Regions from separate parts of the Homo sapiens genome. Here all the other regions are linked to region 2. The links are contacts of gene promoters, found by promoter capture Hi-C in human tissues and cell types (Jung and others, 2019). All regions are on one chromosome and are shown on one strand. Each heading gives the region's core, a stretch centred on a gene start or on the middle of the fragment in contact. The rest is flanking DNA. Distances are from core to core; before and after follow the strand shown. Region 1 overlaps CPEB1 (cytoplasmic polyadenylation element binding protein 1). Region 2 holds the start of AP3B2 (adaptor related protein complex 3 subunit beta 2). Region 3 overlaps CPEB1 (cytoplasmic polyadenylation element binding protein 1).

Evidence for each region. The method cuts DNA at HindIII sites, captures the fragments that hold promoters and counts their contacts. A contact is called where the count stands out against the background at its distance.
Region 1: a fragment that was not itself captured here is called in contact with the fragment with the promoter of AP3B2 in region 2 in 5 of the 25 tissues and cell types used here (dorsolateral prefrontal cortex, mesenchymal stem cells, psoas muscle and 2 more).
Region 3: a fragment that was not itself captured here is called in contact with the fragment with the promoter of AP3B2 in region 2 in 3 of the 25 tissues and cell types used here (hippocampus, mesenchymal stem cells and small bowel).

What each region holds. Positions count from the first base shown.
Region 1 is chr15:82,593,183-82,596,334 of GRCh38, reverse strand. All of the region lies in intron 3 of CPEB1 (cytoplasmic polyadenylation element binding protein 1), which reads left to right. Among named protein-coding and RNA genes, the nearest start is that of CPEB1, 53 kb to the left of the region's middle. The HindIII fragment of the contact is 4,275 bases long and covers 1-3,152 here.
Region 2 is chr15:82,708,205-82,711,561 of GRCh38, reverse strand. AP3B2 (adaptor related protein complex 3 subunit beta 2) reads left to right here and starts at 1,687. Exons shown (of 27, transcript NM_001278512.2): 1 at 1,687-1,968. The coding sequence starts at 1,856. It also overlaps the pseudogene LOC338963. RefSeq lists silencers at 1,634-1,683, 1,904-2,163. The HindIII fragment of the contact is 10,798 bases long and covers 1-3,357 here.
Region 3 is chr15:82,613,293-82,616,763 of GRCh38, reverse strand. All of the region lies in intron 3 of CPEB1 (cytoplasmic polyadenylation element binding protein 1), which reads left to right. Among named protein-coding and RNA genes, the nearest start is that of CPEB1, 32 kb to the left of the region's middle. The HindIII fragment of the contact is 3,936 bases long and covers 212-3,471 here.

The DNA.
Region 1 (3,152 bases), core at 88-2,587, 110 kb after region 2:
TTTGCAAGTTAAATCTTCTCATGTCAGAAGTTTATTTGCAAGTGAATTCGGTCAGAATATTATGCCATCAAGAGAATAAATCAGTTCAAGTTTCACCACATGCTTGTCTTAACTGCTTTATTTTTCGTGAGCTTTAGTAAAAATTAGACCTAATTGTGTTTTGAATCCTTTAGGAATAGCATTGTGATTCTGTGATTGTTAGGATTGTGATTATGTCTCAAGTTGCTTTTAGGCTAGGATTGCTTTCTTCATCTGCCCTCTGCTATAAATTTTTTGAGAAAAGTAGGTCATGTGTTCTATGGAATTATCTGCAGTACAGATTTTACTGACTGCATTCCCATGGCAGTACTTCACATGTCCCTCGGCCCCCTCTAGTTTCTGTTAATTGGTGATTATAGCTAGAGACTTGAGCAGACTTAGGTTTGACTTTCTTAGCAAGAATACTTAGTAGGTGATACTGAGTACTTCTTTTCTAGTGATATCATCAGGCATTGATGGTCACTACCTAGATACATTAGAGGTTGCCAAATAGCAGTTTTCTAATTCTCTGTTTTTCGTTTATTAGTTGATATGCTTTTTAAAAAATAAACTTAATTTCATGAACTATTTGGTAAACCAGAAGAGAACGTTTCTTCAAATAATCAAGCACAATTAAATGCTTATTTTACTTTACTTTCTTTCATAATATTGAGCTGATTGTCTAGCATTCTCCAAAGTTGACCAGTAAGTTGTTTTTTAGTATCATTGTGAACTCATAGATTTAATGTGTTTGATGTGTCTTGATCCATTGCAGTTACCCTTTTTTGTTTAGATGGTCCAATCTTTGAACAGTGGAGCCTCTTTACACCTGGTAGGATGCCTGTAGCAAAAAGGCAGTAACAATTGTTGATCAGGATGTAGAAAAAGTGAAACTCTTATACATTGCTAATGTGAAATGTTGCAGCTGTTTTGGAAAACAATTTGGCGGTTACTCAAGGTTAATCACCATGTGACCCAGAAATTCACTCCTTAAGAGAAATGAAAACGAATGTTCATACAAAAACTTATAGGTGGGCATTTGTAACAGTGTCGTTCATAATATCCCAAATGTGGAAACAATCCAAATGTCTATTAACTGGTGATGAATGGATGAACAGAATGTAGTACAGGCATACCTCATATTATTGTGCTTTATTTTATCACACCTCACAGATACAGCGTTTTATACAAATTGAAGGTTTGTGGTAATCCTGTGTTGAACAAGTCTGTTGGTGCCATTTTTCAAAAAGTATGTGCTTACTTCATGTTTCTGTGCCACATTCTGGTAATTCTTCCAATATTTCCAACTTATTTTACTGTTGCTTTGCTGCTATTGTAATTGTTTTGGCATGCCACAAACCATTCCCATGTAAGATGGTGAACTTAATTGATAAACTTTGTGTATGCTGTGACTGCTCCACCAGTCGGCCGTTCTCCTGTCTCTCTCCCACTTTCTTGGGCCTCCCTCTTTCCTGACACACAACAAAATTGAAATTAGGAAAATTAATAACCCTACAATGGCCTCTAAGTGTTCAAGTGAAGGGAAGAGTCACATGTGTCTCAGTTTACATCAAAAACTAGAAATGATGAAGCTTAGTGAGGAAGACATGTCGAAAGCTGTGGTAGGCCGAAAGTTAGGCCTCTTGTTCCAAATAGTCAAGCTGTGAATGCAAGGCACAAGTTCCTGCAGTAAACTAAAAGGGCTACTCAGGTAAGCACATGAATGATAAGAAAGCAAGACAGGCTTTTTGCTGATATGGGAAAGTTTGAGTAGTCGAGATAGAAGATCAGATCAGCCACAACATTCCCTTATGCCAAAACTTAATCCAGAGGAAGGCCCTAACACTCTTCTGAGAAGGCTGAGAGAGGTGAGGAAGCTGCACAAGAAAATTTGGAAGCTAGCAGAGGTTGGTTCATGAGGTTTTTCTTTTTCTTTTCTTTTCTTTTCTTTTTTTTTGGTTCATGAGGTTTAAGGGAAGAAGCTGTCTCCGTAACATAAATGTGCAAGATGAAGCAGCAAGTGCTGATGGAGAAGCTGCAGCAAGTTACCCAGAAGATCTAGCTAAGATCATTGGTAAGATGGCTACACTCAACAACAGATTCTCAATGTAGATGAAAACAGCCTTCTCTTGGAAGAAGATGCCATCTAGGACTTTCCTAGCTAGAGAGGAAAAGTCAGTTTCTGGCTTCAAAGCTTTGAAGAACAGGCTGATTCTCTTGTTACAGGCTAATGAAACTGGTAACTTTAAAGTTGAGGCCAGTGCTTACCGACCATTCTGAAGATTCTAGGGCCCTTAAGAAACATGCTAAATCTACTCTGCCTGTGCTCTATAAATGGAACAATAAAGTCATGACAGCACATCTGTTTGCACTATGGCTAACTGAATGTTTAAAGCCCACTGTTGAGACTTACTGTACAGACAAGAAGGGATTCCTTTCATAATATTACTGCTCATTAACAATGCACTTGGTCACTCGAGCTTTGATGGAGATGTACAAGGAGATTAATGATTTCATGCCTGCTGACACAAGATCAGTTTTGCAGCCTATGGATCAAGGAGTAATTTTTACTTTCAAGTCTTATTATTTAAGAAATACATTTCATAAGGCTAGAGCTGCCATTGATAGTTATTCCTTTGATGGATCTGGGAAAACCTTCTGGAAAGGATTCATTATTCTAGATACTGTTAAGAACATTTGTGATGCATGGGAGGAGGTAAAAATATTAACATGAATAGGAATTTGGAAGAAGTTGATTCCAAACTTCATAGATGACTTTGAGGGGTTCTCACTGCTTCAGTGGAGGAAGTAACTACACACGTGGTGGAAATAGCAAGAGAAGTAGGATTAAAAGTGGAGCCTGAAGATGTGACTGAATTTGCTGCAATCTCATGATAAAACTTGGGATGAATTGCTTCTTACAGATGAATGGTTTATTGATAGAATCTACTCCTGGTGCAGATGCTGTGAACATTTTTGTTGAAGACAACAAAGGATTTAGAATTTCCACATAAAGTTAGTTGATAAAGCAGAGGCAGAGTTTGAGAGGATTGACTCCAATTTTGAAAGTTCTCCTATGGTAGGTAAAATGTTATCAAACAGCATCACATGATACAGAGAAATCTTTCATGAAA
Region 2 (3,357 bases), core at 438-2,937:
GGTACGTTTCTCTGAAAATGGGGTTTGGGCACTCAGGGTCCCTGAGGTCTCAGGAAATGGGGGTGCGGGATCACAGGGCATAGGACCTAAGCCTGGCTCTGATCCGCACCCCTCTGGCGATCCCCGCAGGCAAGAACTCAGGAGGCTGTGGGCTCCTGGGAAGTTTCTGGGCTCCTGGAAAGGCATCGTATCCAAACAGGGGCAGCGCCCGCTGCTGCGCTCCTGCTGGCGCGTGCTGCGCAGAGTGAGCGAAGCGACGGACGCGGACCCACCATCCTATCACTCCATGCGCAGCAACTGTGTGCACTTTGCACTGTGTCTGCTCGTCCCAGGTCCCAGCCTGGACCCCCGGCAAATAGACGGGAGCTCCAGCAGGTCGGTGAGCGTGGCCCAGCTACCTGCACAGGACCCATCCCACCTCCTGAGCAGACTAGCCAAAGCGCCTTATAAACGCGCAACTGCAAAATCCAGGCCCTTCTCTTCCCACTCCCCACCCAGGCCAGTTTTCTCCAAATTCAAGATCCACTTTTCTCTGGCAGGCACAAAGCCACCGGAACCAAGCGGACCCACCCACTTGTCTAGGTTATCCCAACAGAACCTTCTCATTACCCCAATAGAACCTTACCCCAGTAGAATTACCCCCAATAGAACTTTTCTACTGAGCCAAGCTCCACCTTTCTGGGCCCCACTCCTTCCCAGGTAGGCCCGCCAATTCTGCCCATGGAGACTTCGGGATGCTAGTTACAGACCAAGACTCAGGCCTTAGGAACTCCTCCAGTCCCCATGCCCAGCTAAAAGACTCCAGCCACCTCAACTGATGCCCAACTGGATCCTACCTCTTCCCCCAGCCCAATTCACTACTTTCCATCGGATCCAAGCCTTCCTTCCTTGGGCCTAGGGGTCACTCGGGCTCGGGAGCTGAACTGGAGGGCTCACATGACTCAGGAGCCCTGGTGGTCACACCAGACCCTTCTCTTCCTTTTCAGGTGTCAATGGACGTGGACGTGTCCCCGGATTAAGCATGACCTTGGCCCTCCTGGGTGGACGTGGAGGCTTCAGAAAGATTCATTAAACTACTTTCCAAAGCTTAATTAGATGTTCACCGTCCTCTGTATCCTGTTTCCCATCTCTCTAAGCCCCCAAGGGCTCCTCGGAGCTCCCTGACCTTAATTCCTTAAATTCCGCCACCTCCAGGAAGCTCCTCGGCTTCCTGCTGCCAAGCCAGATTTTGTAGGAAAGGTGGGGCGGGAAAGGGAGCGTCCTTAGGTATCTGAGGCCGGTCCTCGGGTGCGGTGACCCCTTCCCGCTCTAGAACCCCCAGCCTGCGGGCACAGCCTTCTTTCCAGTTCCCGCTTTCCCTCCACGGCGTGGGTGAGCATCCGCGCGTGCGTCTGGGGAGAGCGGAGCCCCAGAGGCCCGTCCCGCCGAGGCCAGGTGGTCGGGGGTGGGGGCAGCTATTCCACATCCCCTGCAAGACGGTCCCAGCGTCCGTCCAGCAGACTCGCCCACCTTTAGATCTGGAGACGAGCCAAGTCGCTTTAAAGGGCAGAAGACGCCCTGAAGAGGGCATTTCCTAGGGATGGGCGGGGCCAGGCCCTGACGCACCGCCCCTGTCGCCTCCTCGCGGACACGCCCTCCGCTCGGCTGGCGCCGGTGCCTTTAAGACCTCAGCGCGCGGCCCTGATTGAGAAATCCGCGCGCAGCCTCCGCCGCTGCACACTGCAGCCTCTGCTGAACCCCTGCCGCGCCGCCGCCTTCGCCAGCCCGGACCGGACCGGCCCGCCTTCCCTTCCTCCGCTCCAGCCGGCCTCCGGCCCCGCAACCTCCTCCTCGGCGAAGTCTCCCTGGCCGCCCCATGTCGGCCGCCCCCGCCTACAGCGAAGACAAGGGCGGCTCCGCTGGCCCCGGGGAGCCCGAGTACGGCCACGACCCCGCGAGCGGCGGCATCTTCTCCTCCGACTACAAGCGGTGAGGGAGCCCGCCAGGAAGCTCGCGGGAGGGTTGGGGCCGGGGACCGGGCGAGGCGCGCGGGCACCATGGACAGCGCCCGGCCCCAGCGCCGGCCCCGCCCCGGCCGCGCCGACCGGAAGCCCGCCCGGCCCCCTCCTGCGGCCTGGAGCCCCGGCCCAGCGCGGGCAGCGCTGGCACCCCGGCTCCAGGGGCCGGCCTAGGACGCGGAGGGGGGCAGATAGGGGCTGGCGGGGGATGGGCCAGCTCAGTTTCGAGAGGAGAAACCCTCCGGTTCCAGGTGTTTCTCCGGTTTGCGGCGTTGCGTTAGGGGTTCCCTTCCTTTTTCGTGCTAGGCGGGTTGGCTTCCCAAAAATGTGGGGGAGGGGTCTGAGTCAGCGAACTTGAGCTTGAGCCTGGGGCCTCTTCAGGAAGGCGGGCCCTGGATGTACTTGCACAGCCTCCCAGCTTGGCCCTGCTGCAAATTCATTTCCCCTCCCTCTGGTCCCCATCTCCATCTGACCCTCACATCCCTGCTCCTGGCATTGCCCCTGTAGTTCAGCTCCACCTTCACACCCTCCCCCACCTTTGATTCGTTCGTTTGTTTCTTCATTTGTTTATTCGTAAATTCTGCAACAAGCATTTATGAAAAGCCAACTGTGTCGAGTCCTGAACTAGTCACGGAATACAACTGTGAACATGAGACCCTTCTTGTCCTCACGATGCTCTAGAGGGGAGCACAGATGAAGAAGCAGTCAGGGACAGTCGAGTGTAATGGGGGCAGTGGGAGCAGGGAGAGGACCTAGTCTCTGGCGCCGGAGAGAAGGAAGACAGGAGCGTGAGGTATGTTCCAGGCAGAGGAAAGGGCTTTCAGGAAGGTTGAGAGCCAGGCCACAATCTGTGTGAGCCACTGGACTGACCAGAAAAGAGGGTGGGGAGGACTCCTGAAGGATTCTAAGCAGGCGACATAATCAGATTTATATTTTAGAAGGACGTCAGGCTGCTGCATTGTGGAGAAGAGATTGGAGGTGGGCCAGATTGAACAAGAGACAAGGGAGGTGGGTCTTGAAGTTCACAGGCCTGGCATGATTGTGGCCTAGACCAGGGGAGAGGCAGAAGATTTGAGGCTGTGGAAGAGGTGGAAGCCTCAGACCTGATGATTAATTGGATATTGGGTGGGGGTTTAGAGGGACAGGGGGAGAAGATGAGGATTTTCACGCACGTCCATGTGAAGAGACCACCAAACAGGCTTTGAACAATAAAGCTTTTTAATCACTTGGGTGCAGGCCAGCTGAGTCCGAAAAAAGAGTCAGCGAAGGGAAATGGGGTGGGACCGTTTTACAGGATTTGGGTAGGTAGTGGAAAATTACAGTCAAAGGGGGTTGTTCTCTGGCGGTGGGGGGACACAAG
Region 3 (3,471 bases), core at 930-3,429, 95 kb after region 2:
TTTAACCAGCCTGGCCAACATGGTGAAACCCTGTCTCTACTAAAAATACAAAAATTAGCCAGGCGTGGTGCCATGCACCTGTAATCCCAGCTACTTGGGAGGCTGAGGCAGGATAATCACTTGAACCCGGGAGGTGGAGGCTGCAGTGAGCTGAGATCATGCCACTGCACTCCAGTCTGGGCGATGACAAGAACGAAACTCCGTCTCAAAAAAAAAAAAAAAAAAATTTAAAAAGAGGAATGTAAAATAATGTATTTACCACCGATCTTTAACAAATGTTAAGATTTTGATATGTTTGATTCAGACCTTTATTCAGACAATATAAACATCAAATAAAAGTTTTGCACTTAAGTGTACTCTTTTCCTCATTTTCCTAGAGATAACTCTCCTGAAGTTGGTATATTTCCTTCCCATCCGTGTTTTTATACTTCTCTGTGTATGTCCATAAACATCGTTTTACATTTTTATGTAAATAAAACATACACTGAGGAAAATGCACAGTTTAAAGTATATAACTGGGTAAATTGTCACAAAACAAATACACTCATGCTCTCAAGCTCAAATCAAGAAATAGAATGATATAAGCAACTAAGAAGACCCCTCATGCCGCCTCCTGATTGTCATATGTTTTAAATCTTTATGCAAAGAATATGACATTATCTTCCTGGCATTTGCTTTTCTCCATGTGTCATATTTATAATGTGTACATATTGATAGTTATTTGTAAGTAAAATCAATACATTTTAATTGCTTTGTAGTAATATTTTACATAAATATATACAATATTCCTCTTGGTAAATGTTTAGGTGTATATTTTTTGCTGTATTTAGGTAAATATATATTTTTTGCTATTATAAACAGTATTTTGGTGAACATCCTTGTTTAAGTCTCCTGTGCCCACATCACAAGAGCTTCCTTGAGTATGTACCTAGAAGTTAATTGCAGAGTTTGGTATATTGTCTTCACACTTCAAGTTGCTGGGTACTTTTTCAAAGTGCATTTACCAGTTTATAATCCTGCTAGGATTTCATGAGTTTTCAGTCACATTCCATGTAGACTCTAGATGTTGTCATACTTCAAAATTCCAGTTGATATAGCTGTAAATCCAACTTGATTTTGTTTTCTTTATATTATAAAATATTTTCTGAAGTTAAAATAATACGTGTAGCATATATGATCTGGCATCAACCCAGAGTAAGTTTCTAGAATTGTGTCCCAGGGTTCTTTCCCTTTATGCCATTCTGTCTGCTGTTTCTTGACATTCCATGCATATTATATAATTAAAATCACTGACAGATGAAGTTGTGCAATGAATGCTCTTCTGCTACATAGTTGACAACTAAATTGACTGTCTTCCTAGAAAAAATTATTTTATTCAAAGTTGGCTTGGTTGTCACTTCAGAAACTTTATAACACTGTCCTGCCTCCAATGTTCTGTAGTCTGTCAATCTGTGAGATGAAGCAAGGTCCTTCTTGGCTCTTCGTGTTTATTTGTGGATCCATCATGTGGTGGTGTAAACATATACATTCTTAAAATGGGAGGATAGGGTACAGTTTTGAAAAAACATTGTCCGTTTCATAATAAACCCAAACAAAGATAGGGTACAGGCTCTGAATGCAGATGACCTGAGAACAAATTCTGGTCGTGCTACTTACTTGCTGTGACCTTGGCTTACACTCTGAGTTTAAATTTCCTCTTTAGACACATAGGTAGAAATAGTACCCATTTGTAGGGGTTTTGTGAAGCTTAAATAAGATTTGTATTGAATACTATCTACAATGATGCACATAACTGCACTTACTAAATGGTGATAGTGATTGTGATAGTGTGGGTATATAAAGATGCAGTTGTGAGAGCGTTGGCTGAGGTCATATATATATATACACACACACACACACACACACACACACACACTTATATTTTAAAGAGTTGAACTAGGTTTTCTGTTTATACTGTAAGTCTCTTGAAGAATGTGTAAGGACTAGGTCTTAAATATCCTTGGGTTTCGTTTCGTTTCTTTCTTTCTTTTTTTTAAAGATCTTTTGAAATCCTTGGATTTCTAATCCTCAGTATTGGGCCTGGTGCATGTTAGGTAACATTATACAATTGCTTAATGAATACATTCTCTCAAACTGGGTGCCTAAGCTGAAAAAGGCCCTCATTTTGTGTTCAAATTGTACTCCCCCCCACATTTGGTACTGATAATATCTAGGAATTTACTTGCAGTTTTGTGTGTATGTATGTGTTCACAATCAGTATTTATTTAGACTTCAGTAATTTTTAGTGATTACTTAGATTATCATTGTGTTTTGTTTAATTCTTGGACTAGTTTGATGGACTTTTCCAAATTGTTAAACATAGAATATATGGAAACTTGCATAAAACACCTGTATATTTTAATCAGTTATACAGCAGACACCCACATAACCACTACCCAGGTCAAGAAATAGAATATTACAGCTGGGTGCAGTGGCTCGTGCCTGTAATCCCAGCACTTTGGGAGGTTAAGGTGAGAGGGTCACTTGAGCCCAGGAGTTCGAGGCTTCAGTGAGCTGTGATAATGCTGCTGCACTCCAGCCTGGGAGCAAGACCCATATTTTTATGTGGTTAGGAGTGACGAAGAGGACGCTGGGAGCCTCCCGAGGAGGCCAGTCCCTTTCCAGCAGCCCCTGGGGCCGTCCCAGGGTAGGGAGTCTTAGAGCCCCAGGGTCCCACCCAGGGTGTGTGTCTCTCTCCCGGTGGGCTTCCCCAGGCATCAGCAAGGCCACTGCTTGGCGGAGGCTTGCCGGCAGGGACTCAGAAGCAGCGAGGCTGAAGAGGATCCTGGGAGCCTCCCAAGGAGGCCAGTCCCTTCCTGGCAGCCTCCCGGGCTGTCCCAGGGGGGCATTGAGGGGGGAGCGGGGCGGGGTGGTAGAGTTCCAGGCTCCCATCCAGGGTGAGTGTCTCTCTCCCCGGGGGGAGCTTGTTTCCAGTCTTAGGGGAGGGGTTGTGAGTGAACTTCTTAGCATTTCTCCTTTAAATATGCTGAAGTTGTGAATGTTTTTTATCTGATTAAGAAAGTTCTTTTCAGACTTTGCCAAGAGGCTTTTAAAAAAAGAAAATCTGCAGGATGCAGTGGCTCATGTCTATAATCCCAGCACTTGGGGAGGTTGAGGTGGTTAGAGACCAGCCTGGGCAATGTAGTGAAACCCCATCTGTACAAAAGTATGAAAAGCCGGGTGTGGTGGCACGTACCTGTAGTCCCAGTTACTTGGGGCTGAGGTGGGAGGATCGCTTGAGCTCAGGAGGTGGAGATTGCAGTGAGCCAAGATCGTGCCGCTGCACTCCAGCCTGGGTGACACAGCCAGACACTGTCTCCAAAAAAACAAAACAAAACAAAAAAACCCCCAAGAAAACAAACATAAAATCATGAATGTTATTAAATTATATCAGCTTTTCTGCATCTATTCATTTAACCTTTCTCCTTTATT